Linked DNA regions of Homo sapiens: region 2 is linked to region 1. Evidence: promoter capture Hi-C in human tissues and cell types (Jung and others, 2019). All regions are on one chromosome and are shown on one strand. Each heading gives the region's core, a stretch centred on a gene start or on the middle of the fragment in contact. The rest is flanking DNA. Distances are from core to core; before and after follow the strand shown.

The links. Contacts are between HindIII fragments. The study calls those that stand out against the background at their distance.
Region 2: a contact is called between a fragment that was not itself captured here and the fragment with the promoter of NASP in region 1, in 1 of the 25 tissues and cell types used here (bladder).

Annotation. Positions count from the first base shown.
Region 1 is chr1:45,582,616-45,589,320 of GRCh38, reverse strand. It overlaps NASP (nuclear autoantigenic sperm protein), which reads right to left and starts at 5,280. Exons shown (of 15, transcript NM_002482.4): 1 at 5,116-5,280. The coding sequence starts at 5,174. RefSeq lists enhancers at 1-492, 493-993, 5,385-5,694, 6,145-6,204, 6,615-6,664 and silencers at 4,585-4,884, 5,795-5,854. The HindIII fragment of the contact is 14,749 bases long and covers 1,319-6,705 here.
Region 2 is chr1:46,210,404-46,217,685 of GRCh38, reverse strand. All of the region lies in intron 1 of LURAP1 (leucine rich adaptor protein 1), which reads right to left. It also overlaps a transcript of POMGNT1 not described here. Among named protein-coding and RNA genes, the nearest start is that of LURAP1, 11 kb to the right of the region's middle. The HindIII fragment of the contact is 6,161 bases long and covers 1-5,670 here.

The sequences.
Region 1 (6,705 bases), core at 4,031-6,530:
GAGACCTATCTCTACCAAAAATAAAATGAGATGGGCATGGTGGTACATGCCTGTAGTCCCAGCTACTCCAGAGACTGATATGGGAAGATTGCTTGAGCCCAGGAGATAGAGGCTGCAGTGAGCTATGATCATACCACTATACTCTAGCCTGGGTGAGAGAGTAAGACCTTGTTTCAAATAAATAAACAAACAAACCAGAAACCATAGGATATTGACAGATTCTACTCCATCTAATTCATTTCACAAAAGGTTAACTTAGCAAATATACATAGAATCTTAGTCAACAGGATAAAAAAGCCCAATGGGAATAGATTAATGGATTTAATATAAACACTCACAAACAAACAAACAAACAAACAAACACTTGACCACCTGCTACTGCTCATTCTTTTGTTTTTGAGACGGAGTCTCGCACTGTTGCCCAGGCTGGAGTGCAGTGGCGCGATCTCGATCTCGGCTCACTGCAAGCTCCGCCTCCCGGGTTCACGCCATTCTCCTGCGTCAGCTTCTCAAGTAGCTGGGACTACATTTTTTTTTTGTATTTTTAGTAGAGATGGGGTTTCACCGTGTTAGCCAGGATGGTCTCGATCTCCTGACCTCGTGATCTGCCCACCTCGGCCTCCCAAAGTGCTGGATTACAGGTGTGAGCCACCGCGCCCGGCCGCTCATTCTTAAGAGAAACAAAAAAACTATACTTAGAAAGTATGTTTTACCCATCGAATAGTCAAAGATAGGGTTAAGGAGAAATTGTACTCCCATACATTGCTAACAGAAATTCAAGGCTAGGCTCACAGCTATAATCCCTGCACTTTGGAAGGCAGAAGGACTGTTTGAGGCTAGGAGTTTGAGACCAGGCTAAGCAGCAAAATGAGACCCCTTCTCTAGTTCAAAAAATTAATTTTAAAAAAAGAAGTGTAGCCTGGGCACGGTGGCTAACGCCTATAATCCCAGAACTTTGGAAAGGCAAGGTGAGTGGATCACCTGAGGTCAGGAGTTCGAGACCAGCCTGGCCAACATGGTAAAACCTCATTTCTACTAAAAATACAAAAATTAGCCAGGTGTGGTGGCGGGCGCCTGTAATCCCAACTACTTGGGAGGCTGAGGCAGGAGAATTGCTTGAACCCTGGAGGTGGAGACTGCGGTGAGCCTAGATCGCACCAGTGCACTCCAGCCTGAGCAACGGAGTTAGACTCTGAATGACTACAGTCATGCGCAACCACGCCTGGCTGATTTTTGTATTTTTAGTAGAGACGGGGTTTTGCCATGTCAGCCAGGCTGGTCTCGAACTCCTGGCTTCAAGTGATATGCCCGTGTTGGCTTCCCACAGTGTTGGGATTACCACGTGAGCCACACCACCTGGCCCTTTTTTTTTTGAGATGGAGTCTTGCTCTGAGGCTAGAGTGCAGTGGCACAATCTCGACTCACTGCAACCTCTGCCTCCCGGTTTCAAGCGATTACAGGACCCTGCTACCCATGCTCGGCTAATTTTTGTAAACTGTAGTCTCAGCTACTTGGGAGGCTGATGCACAAGAATCGCTTGCACAGGGGAGGCAGAAGTTGCAGTAAGCCAAGATCTGGCCACTACACTCCAGCTTGGGCAAGACAACAAGACTCTCTCTCCAAAAAATTAATTATATATATATATATATATATATATATGAAAAAACTCAAGACAAACCTCATAGCCTAGAAATGTTGAATTAACAAAATGTATGTAATCAATGCATAAAAGATATGTAGGTACTAGTCTTCTTCACTACCATAAAATACAAATTATAAAAAGTTAAAATTCATCAAAACACACAGACCATACACGGCACCATCCACAGTTGAGATATGTAAATGAACAAAGATGCAGTATTAAATCATAACTGCAGCCGGGCACGGTGGCTCACGCCGAGACCGGCTGATCACCTGAGGTCAGGAGTTCGAGATCACCCTGGCCAACATGGCAAAACCCCAAAAAATTAGCCAGGTGTGGTGGTACACACCTGCAGTCCCAGCTACTTGGGAGGCTGAGGCAAGAGACTTGCTTGAATCCGGGAGGGCGGAGGTTGCAGTGAGCAGAGATTGTGCCACTGCACTCCAGCCTGGGTGACAAAACTCCCTCTCAAAAAAAAAACAACAAAAAAAAACCAACTAAGAACTAGTTAGAAAGCTAAGAATGACAGGATTAATTTAGCATGTAGATATACATCACCTTAAACAATACTGCTTTAATGGCACGAGGGGACAAAAGCCAACCTAAGACTTTTTGCAGACGACAAAACTGTGGTCCAATATCACTACTGAAGCAATGAAGCTGCTATCAAAGCCAATTCTAAGCCAGGCGAGGTGATGCATGCCTGTAGTCCCAGCTACCCAGAAGGCTGAGATGGAAGGATTGCTTGAGACTAGGAGTTGGGAATCCAGCCTGGGCAACATAGTAAGATCCTCATCTCCTAAATTTAAAAAACCTGAACTGAGGTTTATTTCTCATTCCATTTTTTTTCTTTCTACTGGTTTGGAAGTTATATTTATTCTTTCAATGGTCATCCTCGAATTATAATGTACATTCTTACCTAAAGTCTAAATTCAAGTCATTTTCTTTATCCTACCCTTAAACATGAGGACCTTATAAACTTTACCTCTAAGTGTCCCCACTAACTTACTTAACTGAGACACACTGCTTTCATGTTCTCTCACACTAATTAGATGGGGAAACGAAGAATGAAAATGAAAATGAAAATACTAGCCAGGCTTGGTGGCTCACGCCGGTAATCTCAGCACTTTGAGAGGCCCACGTGGGTGGATCCCTTGAGCCTAGGCGTTGGGAGACCAGCCTGGGCAACATGGCAAAAACTCGTCTTTACAAAATAAATACTAGAATCAGCTGGGCCTTGTGGTGTGCGCCTGCAGTCCCAGCTACTCGGGAGGCTGAGGCCGGACAATCACTTGAGGCCAGGAGGTAGGGGCTGCTGTGGGCCGAGATGGCATCACTGCACTCCAGCCTGGGTGACACACACACACACCACACACACACACACACACACACACCACACACACACACACACACACACACACACACACACACACACACACGGCACGGTAGGGGCTGCAGGGGGCCGAGATGGCATCACTGCACTCCAACCTGGGTGACAGAGACCCTGCCCCCCCACCCCCACACACCCAGCACATATAATTGCTCAGTTTTAGCTTTCAATTTATGCTGTGAGGAACTAAATGGTTTGCTTTCTTCTAGCCACATATACATAAACTTTCTCTATGTATAACCTGCCAGGAAACTAAATTCACTAATGACCTAACTCTGGCTAGACACAGGGGACCTGCAAGAGGTATTTGTTGCATACTTCTACCTCAAAAAACAAAAACAAAAACACCTGGCCCTGCGCCGTGCCTCACGCCTGTAACCTCAACACTTTGGGAGGCCAAGGCGGGAGGACTGCTTGAGTCCAAGAGTCTGAGACCAACCTGGGCAACATTAAGACCTTGTATCTACAAAAAATTGGCCAGGTGTAGTGGCACACCTGTAGTCCCAAGCTACTAGGGAAGATCAGTTGTGCCCAGGAGTTCGAGGTTGCAGTGAGCTATGATCACAACACTACACTCCAGTCTGGATGTGAGATCCAGACCCTGTCTGCAAAAACAAAACAAAAACACACAGCTGTCAGTGAAATACTGACTGCTAGAGCTGTCTAGGAAACATTATAAAAAGCAGCTCTTTTTATAATAGCTATAGCACGACTCCCAAGCCCAATCTATACTGCTTATATCGAATCAATGGGGAAAGAGGCAGGTAATGGGAGTTTGAAATTAAAATTGTATTTCCCATGAGTTCCCAAATGATTCTCAGGGTGACTTGAGAACCACTGCTCTACAAGAACGCAGAGAGAAAAGGTGGTAAGCAGAGATATACGTAAATCTCTAACTATAAACAAACAAAGACATAATCATGACAGAGTGTAAGCCTATAGAATATCAATTTAAAAAACTTCACAGCAACCATTCCTTTTACAGGGAAGGCAACTAACCTCTAAAGCGCACAAGATTAGAAAAAAAAATAGAACCAGATGCCTAAAAAAATATGGCAAGATTGGGAAATCAGACCTACTGTATGGGAAACAGCACTTGTTTCCTTGAACTCGTGTAGTGTTTCCCTCCACTGTTCAAAAAACAGATTACGCCTGAGTGGCACTGTGCCGCTTTCAAAACAATCCTATCTTGTTTCCCTCCAGTCCTTCTCCACTTCGTGCATACTACTGCCGATTCACCTAGCAACCAAACAGTGCTGGTGAGAGCTCCAGACAGCGCTTCCTGAAGACGCTTTACGTCCGGTAATGTTCCCCCCAAACAGACACCACCTCCAAAGTCTAAAGAACGACAATCCTCCCCACCACAGGCAGGGGCTCACGGAGTCGCGGGGAGCGATAACTATCTCCCAGCACAAGACGTGAGCGAGGTGTCGGGGGGAACTAGCCTCGCCGGCCCCACGGAGATAGTCCAAAGCTCCTGCTGGAGCCGCAGCGGCCCCAAACAATGGAGTTTTCCCGCCTCCTCAAGGCCCCGCCCCCTGCCCCAGGGCCGGCGAGGGAAGCGAACGCACGCGCGCAAAACCCCGCCCTCAGCAAGGCCCCGCCCACCCCGACCCCTCAGGTCCAGCCTCCTTCCTCGTGCAAGGTTTTTTTTCCCTTTTGGCGCCAAATCTTCGTTGGTTATATTCCCGGGTTATCCAGGGGTTCTACCAGAGGCACACGCTGGGGACAGAAGGGGCGTGAAGGCCAACCCGCGCGCCAGGGCCCCGCCTCCCGGCCAACCGCCCCGGGCTGGGGGAGGAAGGAGAGGGGCAGGCGAAGGATACAGCCGCCGCTGCCCCCGGCAAGATGGCGGCCGCGAAAAGCGGGGCAGGGGGCGCCAGCCGACCGCCGTTACCGCTGCTGCGCGAGGCTCTCAGCAAAAGAAGGACTGCTCCAGTGACCAGGCCTTCCCGAACAGCGACAGCTGCTCTTGGGAAGGCAAGTACTCCCGCCCACCGGTCTGCCCCTTCTCCGGAGCCCCCGTCCATTAGCCCTCCCCGCGGACTGGCCAGTGCCTTAAGCTTTCCACAGTCCCGCTTACTTGTCGGCAGAAACCAGCTCCGCGGCGACGGCGGCAGTGGCTGTGGACTCCATGGCCATCGTTCCCCTGAGGTGGCGAACCAGCGAACGGAATAGAGCCTGCGAGAAAAACAGGCAATTTGGGACGCCAGAGACTCACTCAGGGACAGAAAATGGCAGATTAGAGACCCCGCGCGGCCGGGGCCCTTTTATATACGAGGACCCTTCGCCCCGCCCATCCACTTCCGGATCCTCCCCCTCGGGTTTAAAGGGCCAGGACTCACCACCCATACCCTCCGTCCCCCGCCGGCCTACCACTATCTAGACACCTCCTGCCCTCTCCATATGGCTCCGCGGGATTGTTTCCCTCCCTAGCCCGACTTCTCCAATAAACAGCAACTTCCTGCTTCTCCAGCAAGTCGCATAAGAAGAACTGGAATCTTGACACTACAACTCCTGACAGGACGCCCCTGCGGCATCCAGAGACAGGGAAGCCAGTGCTGCTCTGCATGTTCAGGGCGAGTAGCTGAGAGTCTCCTTCCGGCCTGGATACTGAGGAAGGTGACTTAGACTTTCTCTCCGTCCTCTGAGTCGTAACGGACGGACACGCAAGGGCCGAGGACGGGTACAAGCAGCAGCGACTAGAACTGATCTGGGTGAGATCTAGGCCTCAGCAACAACTGACGCAAAAAGATTTTGTTCTAGGATTGGCTACAGCTGAAACTACCGCGCTTGATTCAAAGCTCGGGGCTTGCAGCGGGAGGCAGCTGGCTCCTCCCTCTGAACCCGCCCCCTTTGGCTGGCCCAATCCGCTGATCCCATCCTCTTAGGCCCTGCCCAGACTCCAAATCTACCAGAATTAATGCTCCCAGCGCTGTTTGTCCACTCCTGCCTATGATTTGCTGTGTGACTACTACTCGTGGGGGTACCGTGATTAGACGCTTTAAAGCTATTAGCTATCTTGTTTAATATTAACAATGCTACTAGTGAGATCAGTGTTAGTCTGTTTCTTAGAAAAATAAACCAAGGGGCCGGACGCGGTGGCTCACGCCTGTAATCCCAGCACTTTGGGAGGCCTAGGCTGGTGGATCACGAGGTCAGGAGTTCAAGACCAGCCTGGCCAAGATGGTGAGACCCCCCCGTCTCTACTAAAAAATACAAAAATTAGCCGGGCGTGGTGGCGGGCGCCTGTAATCCCAGCTACTCGGGAGGCTGAGGTAGGAGAATACTAGAACCCGGAAGGCAGAGGTTGCAGTGAGCCGAGAGCTCGCCACTGCACTCCAGCCTGGGCAACAGAGCGAAACTCCGTCTCAAAAATAAATAAATAAATAGGCCAAGGTTCCAACCTGGCCAACATGGTGAAACCCCGTCTCTACTAAAAATACGAAAATTAGCCAGGTGTGGTGGCAGGCTCCTGTAATCCCAGCTACTCGGGAGGCTAAGGCAGGAGAATCACTTGAACCCGGGAGGCAAAGGTTGCAGTGAGCCGAGATCTCGCCACTGCACTGCAGCCTGGGCAACAGAGCGAGACTCCGTCTCAAAAAAAAAAAAAAGGGGAAGCTGTGACTTGTTCAGAAAGTTGCAAGACAAATCAGTTATGGAAAGCAGTGTG
Region 2 (7,282 bases), core at 1,341-3,840, 630 kb before region 1:
AGGGCATCACCAGGTTAGCCAGGCTGGTCTCAAACTCCTGACCTCAAATAATCTGCCCACCTTGGACTTCCAAAGTGCCGGGATTACAAGGCGTGAACCACCACGCCCAGGCAGGATTTAACTTTCATCCCACTCCCCACTCCCCTGCCATACAGATACCCTTCCCATCTTCCATCCTCCTAATAGGCAATAAAATTACTCAGTGTTTACTTTATTAGGATTTGGAAATGCTCTTCACAGCTAAGCCATGTAGTTTACTATAGTTACTTTTTATTTCTTACAACATTTTATCCTTAGAATTATTATTATTATTATATTGCCTAGTTTGCTATGTAGTTATCAGCAAGTCAACCTCAAACACTCCCTCAATTCTCTGAATTTCCCTCTCCAGGCTTTTGAATGCATGACACGTTCTATCTATTCCATCTTCTGAGAGGCATCTCTTAAGGAGCCCTCTGCTCTGCTTCCATCTGTCCTTGCTGCACAATTGCCCTCCAGGGATCTCCCTCCATTATCATCTTGGTAATTCCTTTGCCTCTTTCCTTAGCTGGATCCCTCGTTTCTTAGATTCCATATCTTCTTTTTTCATTTACTCCTTCATTTGGGTGAATGGTTCTTTCCCTCTAGTAGCATCCTGAGAAAGTTGGCATAAGAGGTAAATTTATTGAAGCTTTGCATGTTTTAAAATGTTATTACACATCCATAAGATATAATGAAATCATGTCCTTTGCAGCAACATGTATGCAACTGGAGGCTATAATCCTAAGTGAATTAATGCAAGAGCAGAAAACCAAATACTGCATGTTCTAACTTATAAATGGGAGCTAAACATTGGGTATATGAACATAAAGATGGTAATGATAGACACTGGGGACTGTTGGAGGAGGGAGAGAGGTGGGGGCAAGGATTGAAAAATTATTTGTTGGGTACTATGCTCACTTCCTGGGTGATGGGTTCAACAGTATCCCAAATCTCAGAATCATGTGATATACCCATGTAACAAACCTGCGCAGGTACCCCCCTCCGAATCTAAAATAAAAGTTGGGCTGGGCATGGTGGCTCTTGCCTGTAATTCCAGCACTTGGAGAGGCCAAGAGAGGAGGATCACTTGAGTCTAGGAGTTTGAGATCAGCCTAGGTAACAGAGTGAGACACTGTCTCTACAAAAAATTTAAAAATTAGTCAGGTGTGGTGGTATGTGCCTGTAGACCCAGCTCCTCGGGAGGCTGAGGTGAGAGGATTGCTTGAGCCTGGGGGGTCAAGGCTGCAGTGATCCATGGTGGTGCCACTGCACCCAGCCTGGGTGACAGAATGAGATTTCTCTCAAATAAGATAAAATAGGGCCGAGCGTGGTGGCTCATGCCTGTAATCCCAGCACTTTGGGAGGCCGAGGCGGGTGGATCACGAGGTCAGGAGATAGAGACCATCCTGGCTAACACGGTGAAACCCCGTCTCTACTAAAAATACAAAAAATTAGCTGGGCGAGGTGGCGGGCGCCTGTAGTCTCAGCTACTCGGGAGGTTGAGGCAGGAGAATGGCGTGAACCTGGGGGGCGGAGCCTGCAGTGAGCCGAGATCGCGCCACTGCACTCCAGCCTGGGCAACAGCGAGACTCCGTCACAAAAAAAAAAAAAAAAAAAAAAAGATAAAATAAAAGTTGAAATTATTTTTAAAAAGTTATTAATCTTTCCTCACACTATTGATAGTTTGGCAGGATATAGAATTCCAGGTTGAAAATAATTCTTCCTCAGGGGTTAAGGCATTGTTCCATTGTCGTATTTTATTTTTGAGACAGGGTCTTACTCTATAGCCCAGGCTGGAGTGCAGTGGTGGCACAATCATGGTTGACTACAGCCTTGATCCCCTGAGCTCAAGCAACCCTCCTGCCTCAGCCTCCTAAGTAGCTGGACTACAGGCATGTACCTACACCTGGCTAATTTTTAAATTTTTTTTTGTAGATGGGGTCTCACTATGTTGCCCAGGCTGGTCTCAAACTCCTGAGCTCAAGGGATCTGCCCATCTTGGCCTCCCAGAGTGCTGGGATTAGAGGCATGTGCCATGGCACCCAGCCTCCATGTCTTTTAATTTTCAGTGTTAGCCTTTAAAAATCTAATGCCATTCCAATCCCTGATCCTTTGTATGTGACCCTTTTCCCATTCTTGCTGAAAGCTTTTAGGATCTTCTCTTTGTTCCCAGTGTTCTGTTTTTACAGCAATTTGCCATGGTGTGGGTTATTTTCATCTATTGAGTTAGCCACTTGATGGGCCTTTTCAATCTGGAAACTGACGTTCTTCAGTTCTGGGAGATTTTTTAAAATTATTTCTTTGATGATTATCCTCCAGTATTTTTCTGTTCTTTCTGGGAATCCTATTACTTGGACAGAGGGTGTCCTGAACTGATGATCCTCTATGTTTTTGTTTTTGTTTTTTTCACTCTTGCATCTCTTTTTTTTTTTTTTTTTTGAGACAGAGTTTTGTTGTGTCGCCCAGGCTAGAGTGCAATGGTGCGATCTTGGCTTACTGCAAGCTCCACCTCCCGGGTTCACGCCATTCTCCTGCCTCAGCCTCCCAAGCAGCTGGGACTACAGGTGCCCACCACCACACCCGGCTAATTTTTTGTATCTTTAGTACAGACAGGGTTTCACCATGTTAGCCAGGATGGTTTCAATCTCCTGACCTTGTGATCCACCTGCCTTGGCCTCTCAAAGTGCTGGGATTACAGGCGTGAGCCACAGCACCCAGTCACATCTATTTCTATACTTGCTCTAGTTTCTGAAATATTTCAACTTGATCAACTCCTCTTTTTTTTTTTTTTTTTTTTGAGATGGAGTCTCACTCTTGTCCCCCAGGCTGGAGTGCAATGGCGCACATCTTGGCTCACTGCAGCCTCTGCCTCTCGGGTTCAAGTGATTCTCATGACTCAGGCTCCCAAGTAACTGGAATTACAGGTGTCTGCCACCACATCTGGCTGATTTTTGTATTTTTAGTAGAGATGGGGTTTCACCATGTTGGTCAGGCTGCTATTGAACTCCTGACCTCAGGTGATCCACTGCCTTGGCCTCCCAAGTGCTGGGATTACAGGCATGAGCCACCACACCTGGCCTATTATCAACTCTTTGGTTTTTCTTTTTTCTTTTCCCCGCCATGATGTGTTTATTTCCAAGTGCTGTTTCTAGTTCTCTGAATGTTTACCTTTTTACACCTTCTTGTTTTTGTTCATGGCTACAGTATTATCTTTTATCTCTTTAAGGATATGCTTAATGATTTTTATAAGTTCGTATCTCTCTGTATTATCTCCATTTCATTCAAGTTGCTTTTTCTTTTCCTTTTTTTTTTTCTTTTTGAGACAGAATGTCATTCTGTCACCCAGGCTGGAGTGCAGTGGCACGATCTCGGCTCACTGCAACCTCTACCTCCCAGGTTCAAGCGATTCTCATGCCTCAACCTTCTGAATAGCTGGGATTACAGGTGCCCGCTACCACAACCAGCTAATTTTTGTATTTTCAGTAGGGATGGGGTTTCATCATGTTGGCCAGGCTGGTCTCAAATTCCTGACCTCAAGTGATCATCCAGCCTCGGCCTTCCAAAGTATTGGGATTACAGGCCTGAGCCACCATGCCCGGCCTCAAGTTGCTTTTTCCTATTTATTTAGGTCTATATAGAGGGTCAGATGTCTATCATCTTTAACTGCTGCTCACCCTTCAGAGTGGATCTCTACAATGACTAGAAACCGTGTATGTATGAAGCTTGCCAACTCTGAGCCTCACTACAGGATGATCTGATTGGGCTGTTTAATTGGAGGTCTAAAGTCTGTATCTTTTTTTTTTTTCTTGAGTTAATCATATTCCCCATATTATACCACTCTAGAGAGTATAACGTAAGCAAGGCTGTCAGTATCCTAGGAGCCAAGTAGGGGTAAAGGCTTGGAGAGGTATTTCATGATATTTAGTACTTTTTAAAGTTTTTGTAGAGACAAAGTCTCGCTACGTTGTCCAGGCTGGAGTGCAGTGGCATGATCATAGCTCACTGTAGCCTCAAACTCCCAGGCTCAAACTCCTCACCTCAGCCTCCCAGAGTGCTGTGATTACAGGCGTAAGCCATTGTGCCTGGCCGTATTTAGTGTATTTTTATTTAGTCCCTCTTGTCCTCAACTATGCTCAGTGTCTTTTAATCTAGAGACCTTCTGTTCTATTCTCCATATATAAAGTCATTTGTCACGTAACAATGGGGATATGCTTAGAGAAATACACCAGCAGGAGGTTTTACTGCCGTGCAAATATGACAGGGTAAATGCACAAACTAGATGACATTTTAAAAAATTTATATACTTTTTAAAATATGGAAAACAAAATGTCCCAGCACAATTACTGAATATCAATCCCTACTTGATCTGCTATGCCAATATCAAGTGCCATATATCATATTTGTGTATATGCTGTGTTATAATCTTATGAAATCACTATGGTATATGCTGTTCATCGAAACATCGTATGTTTTGGTCGTATGATGACTGAAACATCATATAAATATTTGTGTATGTGTACACACTTATATACACATAAATGTTTATATATATGTGCATATATACACACATGATAAATGTTTATTTGACATATGTAGTCTATCATTGATCAAAATGTTTATATGGTAATCCCAGCACTTTGGGAAGCTGAGGAGGACAGATCACTAGAGGTCAGGAGATCGAGACCATCCTGGCTAACACGGTGAAACCCCGTCTCTACTAAAAATTACAAAAAAAATTTTTGCCAGGTGTGGTGGTGGACACCTGTAGTCCCAGCTACTCAGGAGGCTGAGGCAAGAGAATGGTGTGAACTCGGGAGGTGGAGCTTGCAGTGAGCTGGGATCATGCCACTGCACTCCAGCCTGGGCGACAGAGCGAGACTCTGTCTCAAAAAAATAAAATAAAATAAAATAAAATAAAAAATTAGCCAAGCATGGTGGCTCTTGCCTGTAATCCCAGCTACTCGGGAGGCTCAGGCAGGAGAATCACTTGAACCCGGGAGGCAGAGGTTACAGTGAGCTGAGATGGTGCCACTGTACTATAGCTTGGGTGACAGAGCGAGACTCTGATTCAAAAAAAAAAATTTGGCCGGGTGCAGTGGCTCACGCCTGTAATCCCAGCACTTTGGGAGGCCAAGGCGGGCGGATCACGAGGTCAGGAGATCAAGACCATCCTGGCTAACACGGTGAAACCCCGTCTCTGTTAAAAATACAAAAAAATTCGCTGGGCGTGGCAGTGTACGCCTGTAGTCCCAGCTGCTGGGGAGGCTGAGGCAGGAGAATGGCATGAACCCGGGAGGCGGAGCTTGCAGTGAGCTGAGATCGCGCCACTGCACTCCAGCCTGGATGACATAGCAAGACTCCGTCTCAAAAAAAAAAAAAAAAATTTACATGGTTGTTTATGTTATACATGGTCTGACATTGACCAAAACGTCATTATGTGTGTATGTGTATTTACATATACAGGTCAGATCCCGCAGGTCACACAAACACAGTAAATGTTTTTTGTATTTGAAAAATGTTTATTGAATTATTCAGGAAATAACTGCTTTATTCACATCTATGATAAACCAGAGTAAGACCATGCATTAATATTTGTACATTGAGGCCAGGTGTGGTAGCTCACTCCTGTAATCCCGGCACTTTGGGAGGTCGAGGTGGGAAGATCACCTGAGATCAGGAATTTGAGACCAGCCTGGCCAACATGGTGAAACCCCGTCTCTAATAAAAATACAAAAATTGGCCAGGCGTTGTGGCGCACGCCTGTAAGCCCAGCTACTCAGGAGGCTGAGGCAGGAGAATCACTTGAACCGAGGCAGAGGTTGTAGTGAGCCGAGATCACACCACTGCACTCCAGCTTGGGCAACAGAGCAAGACTCCGTCTCAAAAAAATATATATATATATTTGTACATTGAGAAAATTAGACACTGGAATTAAATGGACCTAGATTTGAGTTCCAGTTTTGCCATTAATGAGCCATATGAAATTAAAATTGATTTCTTTAAACCTTCATTTCTTTATTATAATATGAGGTACTATCTAAAGGTTTGTCATGAGACATCGAAGGAACATATTAACATGCATAGCATACCATCTGACAAGTATAATACTGTAAATCAATAAATGGTAGGCTATTTGGCTCTACATATTACTATGGTCGACTTATTTACTAGTTGTGATATTACTGTGTGTGTGTGTGTGTGTGTGTGTGTGTGTGTGTGTGTGTGCAGGTTTTCATCCAGTTTTTGGCTCATAAGCCCCATAGCCATTGTTACAGTGTTTGTTATAATGCTGGGGCACTCAGAAATAGGCTTCAGGAAACAGTCTCTTTCTGACCTTCTCCTGCTCTCCTCTCACCTTCCCAGAGTAGAACTCTAATCTGATTGTGGGTCATAAGACCCTCATTCCAGAGAAGGTCCTGACTCATACCCTGGAGGAAGGAATGCCGCAGAGAGAGGCCAATAAGAATCTAAACAGACAGGCTTTGCTGGGTTTTGATCAGACCCTTTTTGTCCAATAACATTTTGATATGGTTGTCCATGTTTCAATCGTGGACAACCAATAAAGTCTCTTTAAAAGGCCCAAAGGACCAGGCACAGTGGCTTAAGCCTGTAATCCCAACACTCTAGGGGACTGAGGTGGGAGGATCGCTTGATCCCAGGAGTTCAAGACCAGCCTGGGCAACACAGGGAAACCCTGTCTCTACCAAAAAAAAAAAAAAAAAATTAGGTGAGTGTGGTATTGCACACCTGTAGTGCCAGCTACTTAGGAGGCTGAACTGGGAGGATTGATTGAGCCAGAGAAGTACAGGCTGCAGTGAGCTGTGATTGAGCCACTGTACTCCAACCTGGGCAACAGAACCAGACCTTGTCTCAAAAAATAAAAAAAGGTCCCCACAACAGGATTCAGAGAGCGTCCAAGTAGCTGAACAGATGGAGGGTGGTGCACCCAGGGAGAGCACAGAAGTTCCGCACCCCTTCCCGTATGCCTTGCCCCATGCATCTCTTCATCTATATCCTTTGTAATATCCTTATAATAAACCAGTAAATGTGTTTCCCTGAGTTCTGTGAGCCACACCAGCAAACCAATCAAACCCAAGGAGGGGGTCATAGGAACCCCAATTTGAAGCTGGTTGGTCAGAAGGTCAGGAGGCCCAGATTTACGACTAGTGTCTGAAGAGGGGGACAGTCTTGGGGACTGAGCCCTCAACCTGTGGGATGTGACACTGTCTCCAGGTAGACAGAGTTGAAATTAAATTAGTAG